Linked DNA regions of Homo sapiens: all the other regions are linked to region 4. The links are contacts of gene promoters, found by promoter capture Hi-C in blood cells and fetal thymus (Javierre and others, 2016). All regions are on one chromosome and are shown on one strand. Each heading gives the region's core, a stretch centred on a gene start or on the middle of the fragment in contact. The rest is flanking DNA. Distances are from core to core; before and after follow the strand shown.

Region 1 (3,022 bases), core at 247-2,746, 5.2 Mb after region 4:
TTCAGCCCACTGGGGGTTTAAAATGACTAACAAGACCCCTTGGACTACTTCCCATTGCTCCTCCTGATGATGGACAAACAAAGCTGGGGACCATCCACTCATGAGAGGGAAAGGGTGAAAGTTCATGTGCTCTCAGCCATCTGTTATCAAGCATGGAACCAAGGGACATGGCACCAGAGGAAACATTCCTCTGCTGGCTCGAAACCCAGAAAGATCTGTCAGATGTCACAGGGCTTACACATCCTCTTACACATCCTGTCACCCAACCAGCAACTCAGCAAAATCAAAGCAGTGAGCAGCGAAGGCAGAGTCTTGGGACTCCCAGGCTTCCAGTGTAGCTAGAGAAAGAACCCTGCAAAGTGACCACTGCCAGAGCTGTGACCATCTCCTCCCCGCTGCTCACGTCACAGAGACAGAGGTCTACAGAGTGATTCGTCCAAGGTCACAAGGCTTGGTGCGGCTTCCTGACTCTCCAACCAAAATGTTTCCCTTGGGCACCCCTGCCCGAGTCCTGCACCATCCTCCAGCCTCTCCTGCCACCCACATGAGAGTGCAGGCTGGGGTCCTCGTGGAACTCAGAAGCTGGGGGTCCCACCTCTTGCAGATTCTCTGCCTTGGTTAAGACCTCTCGGCACCCCCACTGCTCACTGGCAAATTACTCAGCTCATTGTTGCACCTTACCTGCTCTTTCTCCCTGATGGGCTGTGCCAGAGGCGGTTGCTCCTTCTCCCCAAAGGTCTGGGATCTGATTCTCCTCACTTCCCTTTCTGGACCCAATTTCTTCTTTCTCAAGACTTTGCCTAAAATTTGCTGTCAGCAGAGGGAAGAGTTTGGGCTACTTCTGTGCTGGCTTCAGCAGAGCTGGAGGAAACTGAGCGGCTCTCACGCTTACTCATGAAATGGAGCTTCAGGACAGATAGGAAAACAGGCCCAGGAGGGAGAGGTTAGACTAAGGTCACAGTGGGTAGCTGGCAGAGCCAGAATAGAAGCCTGATGCCCACATGCTCAGGCCAGCGATGTAGGCCCCTCAGATCCCAACTGGAGTGTGCTCCCAGTCCAGCCTGGGGTTGGAGCCCTGAGATAGAAAGGGTGGGCTGCTTTGTGAGGTGAGGCTTTGTGAGGTGAGCCAGGGCGCACCCGGGCCAGGAGGCCGGGGCGGGGCGATTCCCAGGCCTGGAGCGAGAAGGGTGGGCTACTGTGGGGTAACCTGGGGAGGAGCTCCGGGACCCGATCCCGGCCTAGGACTGGGTGGAGACCCTCTGGCTGGGTAAAGGCGCGGCAGAGCTGGCGCAACAGAGGGACGGGCGTGGGGCGAGGACGCCAGGATCTGGACCCCTGCAGGGAAAGGGTCTGAGCTTTTCCGCGGTGGCGGGGACTGAGGGGCTCCACAGACCTCGGGGATCTAACACTTCCACCCTCCAGAGCCTGTCTCCGGCCACCTACCTTGGGGGATTCTTTCCCGAGCCGGCTGCGGAGACACGTGAGCATGCATCACATGACGCCCGCTCGGGCGGCCGCGGGACACGCTGGGAGTTGTAGTTTCCGCAAATGTGAAGCTTGGACAACACCAGCTCCCTGAATCCTCAGCCCGACAGCACTGCCCTGAGCCAGCCTCGCGTCCAGCCAGCTCGTGTTTATCCTCTTACTTTTAGTCTTGGCCTCTTGACCAAATCAAACACTGCTCCTTCCTCCAAGGAAGAGCATTAGGAGGTCTGGCCTCTTTGCCAGTCCCGGTGGCGGTGGGCCAAAGCTGTTTGGCCTCATTATCCTCCCGGTCTCTGTCCTTGCCTTCACGCCCATGGCCAGAGCACTGGAGTTTTTTTTTAATCAGTAATGTGGGGGACCTGGAGCCACGGTCTTTCCTGCAAGGGAGTGGGCTGGGGGCATGGTTACGACCCCATCGGTTTAGACTCTAGAACAGTTTTTGAGGGATTGTAGGTGCTCAGTAAATATTTGTTGAATGACGAAATGGGCATCCAGTCCTGGTTCTGTTCTTGGCTGTGTGTCACTCATAAATTGTCACGTAATCTCCAGCATCCCAATAGCCTCATCTCTGTTTTGTGGATATGCTCTCCACTGCACTTACCTCTCCATGCATCAGAGGTCCTCACCGATGAGGACACACTGGGAATCCTTAGAAACCCAAATCACACCTTTTTTTTTTTTTTTTTTTTTTTTTTTTTTGAGACAGAGTCTCACTCTGTCTCCCCGGCTGGGGTGCAGTGGCACGATCTTTGCTCACTGCAACCTCTGCCTCCCGGGTTCATGTGATTCTCCTGCCTCAGCCTCCCGAGTACCTGGGATTACAGGCATGCACCACCACTCCCAGCTAATTTTTGTATTTTTAGTAGAGATGGGGTTTCGCCATGTTGGCCAGGTTGGTCTCAAACTCCTGACCTCAAGTGATCCACCCACCTCAGCCTCCCAAAGTGCTGGGATTACAGGCATGAGCCACCGTGCCTGGCCTCCAAAAAGTTTATATAAATTGAATCATACTGGTTGAGTGCGGTGGCTCACACCTGTAATCCCAGCACTTTGGGAGGCCAAGGCGGGCTGATCACTTGAGGTCAGGAGTTCGAGACCAGCCTGGCCAACATGGCGAAGTCCTGTCTCTATTAAAAATACAAAAATTAGCTGGGCATGGTGGTGCACGCCAGTAGTCCCAGCTACTCGGGAGCCTGAGGCAGGAGAATCACTTGAACCCGGGGGGCGGAGGTGGCGGTGAGCAGAGATCGTGCCACTGCACTCCAGCCTGGGAGACAGAGTGAGACTCTGTCTCAAAAAAAAAAAAAAAAATAGAATCATACTGTCTTAATCAGTTAAGGCCGCTATAACAGAGTATCATAGACTGGGTGGTTTAAACGACAGAGATTTATTTTTCACCGTCCTGGAAGCTGTCAAGACTGAGGTCAGAATGCCAGCAGAGTCAAGTTCTGGGGAGGACCATCTTCATAGTTTTCAGATGGCCATCTTCCTGCTGTGTCCTCACATTGCGGAAAGCAGAGAGGGAAAGTAAACTCTC
Region 2 (2,826 bases), core at 212-2,711, 5.1 Mb after region 4:
CCAGCACTTTGGGAGGCCGACGCGGGTGGATCACGAGGTCAAGAGTTCGAGACCAGCCTGACCAACATAGTGAAACCCCGTCTCTACCAAAAATACAAAAATTAGCTGGGTGCAGTGGTGCGCGCCTGTAATCCCAGCTACTTGGGAGGCTGGGGCAGGAGAATCGCTTGAACCCAGGAGGCGGAGGTTGTAGTGAGCTGAGATCGCACCACTGCATTCCAGCCTGGGCAACAGGGTGAGACTCCGTCTCAAAAAAAAAAAGGCAGACTACTATTTTTGTTAATGTGGGACAAAATACTCATAACAAATATTTTGCAAAATTTTTTTTTAATTTAATTTTCTTTTTTGTAAAGACAGGGTCTCACCATGTTGCCCAGGCTGGTCTCTAACTCCTAGTCTCAAGCATCCTCCTCCCTCATCCTCCCAAAAAGCTAGGATACAGGCTTGAGCCACTTGCCTGGGCCAAAAAAATTAGTCCCAAAATATGACAGCACTCAATTAGAATTATTGTGGACAAATTCCATTCTCTGGTATTGGGTACCAAAGACGTGTTTGTTATTACACAGAAAGAAATAATCAAGTTCATAAATTCAAACTGGTTAAAAAGAAAGCTTCTCGGCTGGGCACCGTGGCTCACGTCTGTAATCCCAGCACTTTGGGAGGGTGAGGCGGGTGGATCATGAAGTTAAGAGTTCGAGACCATCCTGGCCAACATGGTGAAACCCTGTCTCTATTAAAATACAAAAATTAGCTGGGTGTGGTGGCGGGCACCTGTAGTCCCAGCTACTCGAGGGGCTGAGGCAGAATTGCTTGAACCCTGGAGGCAAAGGTTGCAGTGAACCGAGATTGTGTGCTGCTGCACTCCAGCCTGGTGACAGAGCGAGACTCCATCTCAAAAAAAAAAAAAAAAAAAAAGTTTCTCATAACCAGATCAGAATCTATCCTAAAACATACTCAGAAAAAGTAACATGCAAGGTAATTTGAAATCAGACTTTAAAGCATGTTTTGAAAAGATGGCAAGCATTTCCATTTGTTTTCATAGCTTTTTTTAATGACTTGACTCCAAATAAGAAGGATGTCTTATTATTTAGCTTGACAACATCTATGTTAAAGAGACTAGGATCTAAACCCCGAAGAGAAATTCAGAAACTAGAAAAAAAGAAAATGAACCCGGGGTGTTAAGCTGGGAACCAAAAAGAGCACATTTCAATTCTTTTCCACCGTAATGCCACAAAACCGTACCTTAAAACTTCTAAGATTACAATCTTAGGTAAGAAAAGGAAATATTTTCAGTTACAAATAGACATGTCTTTGCGCCTTCATTCTAGACTTTTTTTTGAGACGGAGTCTCCCCGTCCCCCAGGCTGGAGTGCAGTAGCTCTATCTCGGCTCACTGCAACCTCCGCCTCCCGGGTTCAAGCAATTCTCCTGCCTCAGCCTCCCAAGTAGCTGGGATTACAGGCACCTGCCACCACGCCCGGCTAATTTTTGTATTTTTAGTAGAGACGCGGTTGTGACATGTTGGCCAGGCTGGTCTCGAACTCCTGACCTCTGGTGATTCACCTACCTTGGCCTCCCTAAGTGCTGGGATTACAGGCGTGAGCCACCGCGCCCAGTCGATTCTAGACTTGTTTCCACTAAGACTTGGGGAACCCACACTTGTTGAAAAGGAACTAACTCTCCAAACTAGTTTTATCAACATGCTATCATTTCAGTCAAAGCACAGCTAGCCACCTAAAACCATGTATCATCAATGCATATTCTCCTTAGACAAGGTAACAATTTGCAGTATCCTAAAACATAATTATTTAAACTGTTACCACATGTCTTCTTAATAGCTAAAATACTCTGCTGCCAATCTTTAAAAGGGTAGGAATACCAACCGGGACCACAGATCACTTAAGTATTAAACCCAAGTACCTATAGAAAAAAATTGTTCTTAATCTGTTTGACCTTCCTCCTAATATTTTACTTGCCTTCCCTCATTTTTTTAATCCATGTATTCCCTATTCCTATCAAAGGGGCTGTCATAAGGAAAACGTTCGGCATTGTTTCAAACAGTATAATTATATTCACTCAATCACTGACTTAAAAAAAAAAAAAAACCCAAGTAGTCACAGGCTATCGAATTGTAGAGAAATCGGCAGGGTAGGTTAAGCATTGTTACTCAGTTTTCAGGAAGAAAACAGACTTTATTAGAGTCCTAAGAAATGTGACATTTGATTAACTTCATGGGAAAAGTTTGTCATAAAGTTTATTTTAAATACAACATTTTCAAACGCACAGATGTCAAGCATTCTTTTTTAATCTACAAAGCTTACTCCTCGGGGAGTTAGTATCTGTGAGCCCTCTTGGGTGAATTCTGCAAAGGAGGTGGTACTGAAAAAGTATTATTTGTGTTTGGCCTTAAGTACCTCTACAAGACCTGCCGTGGATCTTATCAGCCTTGAGGCCTACAAGTGCTCAGCTCACTAGCGGGACACTTGTCCTGGGTGAGCAGGACCGCCACTACTGCAGACACCGGACCGAGTAGGTGGGGGCCAACTTCAAAGAAAGTGTGAGCGCCCAGGCGCGCGAGTGGAACAAAACCTGTAGCAAGTAATAAGGAAGTGCTTGCTCCCGCCCGCCCTTCCCATCCGGGGACACCCGAAACCTGGGGGGCTTTGACAACGTGCTGGGGGCGTAAGACGGGGAGAGTGGCAGCTCCGAGTACACGGAGAAGAACTGGAAACATGCAAAAACTCCAAACACGGTCCCCCCCGCCAGAAGCCCTAGGCCTCGGAAGCCGATGCCCACTGCAACCATCAGGGAGCAGAGACAGAAACA
Region 3 (2,745 bases), core at 187-2,686, 5.0 Mb after region 4:
ACTCTTTGCCTTCTCCTAAACATACGATCATGTCTGACAGGGTTAATGATTATACTCTGCAATCTATAACCAGATATACTTATCCCTAAACTTTGATATGATTTTACACATACTAAATCTTCACCTATGTATAACCTAAACTAAAATACCGTGTTAGAGGAGCCTCACAAGATTACTCCTGGGCTACAGGCCTCAGTCTATAGTCCTCAATAAGGCTTCTAAATAAAACTAATTTTAATTATTTAAAAGCTTAATATTTTTTCTTTAGTCAACATACCAATCCTTACATTAATTCTACAGAGTAGGTATTATCTTAGTTTCGCAGGTGAGGAGACTAAGGTTCAGGAAAAAGGATTTGCCTGAGTAACAGACCAGGCCGCGCGCGGTGGCTCACGCCTGTAATCCTAGCACTCTGGGAGGCCGAGGCGGGGGGATTGCCTGAGCTCAGGAGTTCGAGACCAGCCTGGGCAACGCGGTGAAACCCCGACTCTACTAAAAATAAACACAAAAAATTAGCTGGGCATGGCAGCGTACGCCTGTAGTCCCAGCTACTTGGGAGGCTGAGGCAGGGGAATTGCTTGAACCCGGGAGGTGGAGGTTGCAGTGAGCCGAGATCGCACCACTGCACTCCAGCCTGGGCGAGACTCCCGTCTCCCCAACGCGCCAAAAAAAAAAAAAAAAAAAAGGAAAAAAAAAAAAAACTGAGTGTTGAGCTGCGGCGTTGCTTGGCTTCAAAACCCATTCCTGTAACCTCTATATTCACAGCCTCATTTTCTTACATTTAACAGCATGCTACTTCCCCAGGTTTAACCACCATTTGTTTTATTCATTTATTTACCCAATAGGTAGATATTGAGTCCCTACTATGTCAGCTAATAAAACCCACCACGTGCTATGCAGCAGATTAAAAACGAGGATGTACTGGCAAATAAGGGCAGAGAGGATCTATTCTAGATCCAGGAGCCCTCTAGGCCACGCCACTCTGAAACACACACGAAAACTGCTCTGAACGAATACCACCAGTAAAAGGGTTCCATGGCCATCGGCAACAAGGGGTCGAGATCAGGAGGTCGCTCGCCGCCCAGTTGCGTCGCTCACCACCGGCCGGCCACCAGACCCTCGGCTTCCGATCCAGAAACCGTATTTTGTTCTTGCACCCAGACCGCAAGAAGCCTCAGCCCTCGGGGACAGACCGAAGGCCAGGGCTGTACCTGGCTCAGAACCAGGCGCCAAGCGGCACGGGACTCTCCTTCTGCACTCGCAGCGCGTGAGTGCAATTGGAGATCCTGGACTCAAGATGTTTTCATGAGGAACGATTCCAGCCCGCGGTAACTCCGGCCAGTCTGCAGCGTGGACGACAAAACAGGCACCACGTGGTTCCGGCGCCGGGGCGGGGCCAGAGACGCCGGAAGTGACCGCGCGGTGCGCCGGCCCGCGAGGAAACGCGCTCTTAGACCATGGCGACCCAGGCGAAGCGTCCACGGGTGAGTGGCGGGCGCGGGGTCCAGCCTTTTCCTCCGCGCCTCACCCCTTCTCCGTTCGCAGAACCGTCCGCCTGCGCCCCCTCCGCTCCCTCCCGCGGGTCCCGCGCCCCTCTCCGCTCGTCCCCTCCTCCACCCAAAGCCCGTTCTGCGCTCGCGCCGCGGTCTCCTGCAGTTCCCAGCGGCCTCTCTGGGGGTCGGACCTGGTCACTGCGCGCACTTATCTCAGGTGGCGGGGCCCGTGGACGGCGGCGACCTGGATCCTGTGGCCTGCTTCCTGAGCTGGTGCCGGCGGGTGGGGCTGGAGCTGAGTCCCAAGGTGAGCGAGCGAGCCGGCGGGCGGAGGACCCGCGGCGGGGCGCGGGCTGCCCTGACCAGCCCTCCTGCTCAGGTGGCGGTCAGCCGGCAGGGCACGGTGGCCGGCTACGGCATGGTGGCCCGGGAGAGCGTGCAGGCCGGAGAGCTGTTGTTCGTGGTGCCGCGGGCCGCGCTCCTGTCGCAGCACACCTGCTCCATCGGCGGCCTGCTGGAGCGAGGTGGGCACGGCGGCGGGCTAGGGCCCTGGGGCGGGGCGGGGCGGGGCGGGGCGGGCCCGGCCCGCGAGGCCGCGCCGGGGCGCTCACACCTGTGTCTTCCTCAGAGCGAGTTGCGCTGCAGAGCCAGTCGGGCTGGGTGCCACTGCTGCTGGCGCTGCTCCACGAGCTGCAGGCCCCGGCCTCACGCTGGAGGCCCTACTTTGCGCTCTGGCCCGAGCTGGGCCGCTTGGAGCACCCGATGTTCTGGTGAGAGCCTTGGGAGGGGTTGGGGAGCGCCTGCACCGTAGCCTGCTGCAAGAAGTTTCCCCGCCCCTGCACCAGTCCTACCCAGTAAAGTGTGTGAAGGAATGAAGGGAACCTGGGTGTGGGTGTCCCTGCAGGCCAGAGGAGGAGCGCCGGTGCCTGCTCCAGGGCACAGGCGTACCTGAGGCCGTGGAGAAGGATTTGGCCAACATCCGCAGCGAGTACCAGTCCATCGTGCTGCCCTTCATGGAAGCCCACCCCGATCTCTTCAGCCTCAGGGTTCGCTCCCTAGAACTCTACCACCAGCTGGTGGCCCTTGTGATGGCCTATAGGTCAGTGGGTGGGGCCTCTGAGGACGGAACCCTTTTCTTTACAACTCTATAGAGGGACAAAAGTGGAAAAACAGTGAAATCCACCCCCAGTCCCTCACCCAAGACAGGGCCTTAGCCAGGTTCTGTCAATGGCAGCTTTCAGGAACCACTGGA
Region 4 (3,011 bases), core at 184-2,683:
CCAGTAATTAAATCAGAGGAATGAAGATCCTGGCTCTTCTACTAGCATGGATAACATGCAATAAGTAACAACAGTTCTCCGCAAATCTGCCTTTAAAGGTGAGTATGACACACTGAATATACTTGAGATATCAAAAATGTGCGGGGGCATGTTCCCCTTTGGCTCAAATGAAGACACTGATTTTCAGATCTAGCAGTAATGTGCAGCACCCCAGTGTCCTCTAGGACACACCTAACACGGGACCGGATCCCTTGGGACACAGTGGTGTGCTCCACAACATACATTTAATGGGCTGGTGCAAACCTGTAAAGTCTCTTAAAGGTCTAACGCGTTAGGATTCTCTTTAAGAATCCAGTAAATTTTGTCCCCAGTTCTGCCTGTCATTAAGCAGGAGGTATTGTCTTCTGCTGCCTAACTTTGCTATGGATCTTTTAATCCAATGTTTCCAGCAGCAACATAATCACGAGAAACTGTAGCACACTTTTCAGGGTCTAGTCTAGGACAAGCACAGCATACATGTTCTGAGAGGAATGACATAGATGGAAGCAAGACATGTTACATCCTTGTCACTTGGAAACAATTTTAGAATTTCTGCCTGTTTGGCCACGGCTGCATTCCTTTACATCACCCAGCTGAGAAGTCTGGGTCTTCAGCCTGCGCGAATGACAGTGCGTGGCAGAGCTAAAACTAGGCTAAAACATGAGTGCTGCTGTTACTCTACATGCCACAGCGCACTCACATCACCCCGAATCGGACTTAAGAAATTACACGTTAAGAGGAGACAGAGCAGGGGCCAGAAAAAAAAAGATGAAAACGGCCCGGGCCAGGCTCGCTGGGGACAGCCGGGACCCGCGGCGGCCTCGGACCGGCACCCTCACCGCGGGCGGAAACCCGTCTCTGAGCACTCAGGGAATCTGGACAAACCTGTCTCGAGGTGATGCAAGGCGGGGGCCCTGTCCTGGCCTCGCAGCTAGCTCGATGCTGGCCCGGGAGCCGCGGGCCCCTCCAGTGGGGGGGCTCTGGGGCCCGGCGACGCCCCCTTAACCAGAGCTCGGGGTCGGGACCCGGCCGGGGAGGGCGGGCACGGGCCGGGGCGAGCCAGCTGGGCCCCCCTCTCCCTCGGGCCGGGCCAGCCCAGCTCCAGCCGCAGTCCCCAGCAGCAGTCCCGGGCTGCGAGGCGGCCAGCGCAGCAGGTGCCTGCAAACGCGCACAGGTGCCCGGCCCCGCCTCCGTGTCCCACTGCGGCCGCCGTCGCCGAGTCGCGAGCGCCTAGAAAGATGGACAAATGCCGGGCCCGTGGAGGCTGGCGGCCAGATTTACAGACACCTCAGCCCTCGCGTACCCACCAGCCTGCCGGGCAGTAAGCCTCACCCCAGTGCCTTCAATGCAGAGCTCCTGGCTGCCAAGCGCCGCCGCGGCCCGACAGCATCTCCCGCCGCAGCGCCAGCCCTGCCCCTGCTTGATCCCCGCCCCGCCCCACCCCGCCCTGCCCTGCCCTGCCCTGCCCTCGGCAGCGGGCTCCGCCCCCTGCTGCACGATCCTGGGGCCCGAGGCTTCCGCCTGGCCTCCCGGCGCCAACTGGCTCTCACACCTGCCCGTCAAAGACGTTCTTCCGGGGGCGTTGGGAAGAACACACTCGGTCCTGCAAATCAAATCACCCCGGTTTGGGTGGGACTGCACTTGACCCTCCCCTTACGTAACAGCGCCTGGGACGGCCTGTCAGTCATGGAAGTATCGGCCCCCCGGGGAGGGATGGGGCAGAGACAAACAAGCGCCGGGTCACAATTGGCCAGGGCGTCTGCCAGTCACCACGGAGACCTTCCCGGAGGTTTATTCGCACAGCCCACAGCGCAACCGCCATGCGCAGGGGCTGGGGCATACGCTAACGTCTGCAAGCCAAGCTTTTGGGGAGGGCCGGGCCGCGCGACTGCCCAGTGGCTCCCATCGCTAGGTCCTACTGCGTTGGGCGGCGCTGCGAGGCCCGAGGCCGCCACGTCGGGCCCACAGGGTACCAGGGGTCAGAAGGACACTTGGCGTGGCATCAAGAAACGCCCGTTCTCTCCATCAGTGCAGGAGCTGAAGGCTGGAGCTGAAGGGAGCTCAGCTCCAAGTGGGCCCTGGGCACTAGAGCAGCCAGAGGAGCTTTGTAAATCTGTGTGTGTCGGCCCCGACCTGCAGCATCCGAGTGGGGGCCGGGGGCTGGGGGGAGGGGGGAGGCTGAGGACCAGGAATCCACATCTGTCACAGTTCGCTGCTGATTCTGGCGCACACTGAAGTTGGAGAACCTCTCCCATAGCAACATAGTTCCTGGTCTTTTTTTTTTTTTTTTTTTTTAATTCACACGCTCTCATTTGGACCTCCCGTCTGCTTTCCCATGGAGGTCTCTCTCTGGCCTAATTCTGTGACTGCTGCCAGCTGCTTTCCAGGCCTGTTCTTACCAACGGTGCCTCCCCGTGGTTAGTCCGTCCAATCTCGGCACTCCACTTCCACACTTGCGCGACAGCCCTCTCCCCGCAAGCCCCTGCCCCTTTTCTAGACACCAGAGGCACTGACCTGTCTGTGACACCGCCTCAGTGTCTTACACTCAGAAGCCGCATTCTCTGGCCGGGTTGTTTGGTCCATTTTTGGTTGCCTCTGAGATTCTGGTAAGTGACTTATTAAAGGGCAGGAAGCCAAATTCTCCTGATGTTAATCCCAAGGGTTGGTTCTGAAACCCAGCTTCCTCCCCTAGCTGAAAACACTTCTGAGCCACTTCCTTTTGTCCCCTTAGGACACATTTAGGAATGTTATCATGCCTTTTAATACGAGTCTTAATACAGAAAGGCAGGCAAGCAGGAAATCCTTTTTTCAGGCCACAGGTGGTCTCCTTTGGCACCTCTGTGGCCCATTTCCTCCCAATCTTCTTTGAAGCTCATTATCCTCTGCAAAGCTTTTTTTCTGCTTTCCTCCTTTCCCCAACCTTCAGTTTTCACCGAGGACCCACATAGGTATTTCTCCAGCTCACATCTATC

The links. Contacts are between HindIII fragments. The CHiCAGO score rates a contact against its expected background, and 5 or more counts as called.
Region 1: a contact is called between the fragment with the promoter of SLC38A7 here and the fragment with the promoter of AKTIP in region 4, in 2 of 17 cell types (M0 macrophages and monocytes). The highest score is 10.8, in M0 macrophages.
Region 2: a contact is called between a fragment that was not itself captured here and the fragment with the promoter of AKTIP in region 4, in 3 of 17 cell types (activated CD4 T cells, fetal thymus and total B cells). The highest score is 7.8, in activated CD4 T cells.
Region 3: the fragment with the promoter of SETD6 here is called in contact with the fragment with the promoter of AKTIP in region 4 in 1 of 17 cell types (monocytes); the score reaches 7.5 in monocytes.

What each region holds. Positions count from the first base shown.
Region 1 is chr16:58,683,274-58,686,295 of GRCh38, forward strand. SLC38A7 (solute carrier family 38 member 7) reads right to left here and starts at 1,497. Exons shown (of 12, transcript NM_018231.3): 1 at 1,444-1,497; 2 at 682-905. RefSeq lists enhancers at 869-1,713, 1,224-1,283. The HindIII fragment of the contact is 5,837 bases long and covers 1-1,554 here.
Region 2 is chr16:58,626,510-58,629,335 of GRCh38, forward strand. All of the region lies in intron 1 of CNOT1 (CCR4-NOT transcription complex subunit 1), which reads right to left. Among named protein-coding and RNA genes, the nearest start is that of CNOT1, 1.9 kb to the right of the region's middle. RefSeq lists an enhancer at 2,394-2,826. The HindIII fragment of the contact is 1,705 bases long and covers 610-2,314 here.
Region 3 is chr16:58,514,081-58,516,825 of GRCh38, forward strand. It overlaps SETD6 (SET domain containing 6, protein lysine methyltransferase), which reads left to right and starts at 1,437. Exons shown (of 8, transcript NM_001160305.4): 1 at 1,437-1,484; 2 at 1,711-2,017; 3 at 2,122-2,263; 4 at 2,398-2,592; 5 at 2,728-2,745. The coding sequence starts at 1,458. It also overlaps a transcript of NDRG4 not described here. RefSeq lists enhancers at 1,112-1,281, 2,322-2,491 and a silencer at 1,402-2,061. The HindIII fragment of the contact is 14,988 bases long and covers 248-2,745 here.
Region 4 is chr16:53,501,776-53,504,786 of GRCh38, forward strand. It overlaps AKTIP (AKT interacting protein), which reads right to left and starts at 1,434. Exons shown (of 10, transcript NM_022476.4): 1 at 1,372-1,434. LOC124903690 (a long non-coding RNA gene) reads left to right here and starts at 2,605. Exons shown (of 2, transcript XR_007065069.1): 1 at 2,605-2,645; 2 at 2,966-3,011. RefSeq lists enhancers at 630-1,131, 1,132-1,631, 2,092-2,191 and silencers at 902-1,201, 1,462-1,531, 1,552-1,791, 2,512-2,601. The HindIII fragment of the contact is 2,307 bases long and covers 1-1,899 here.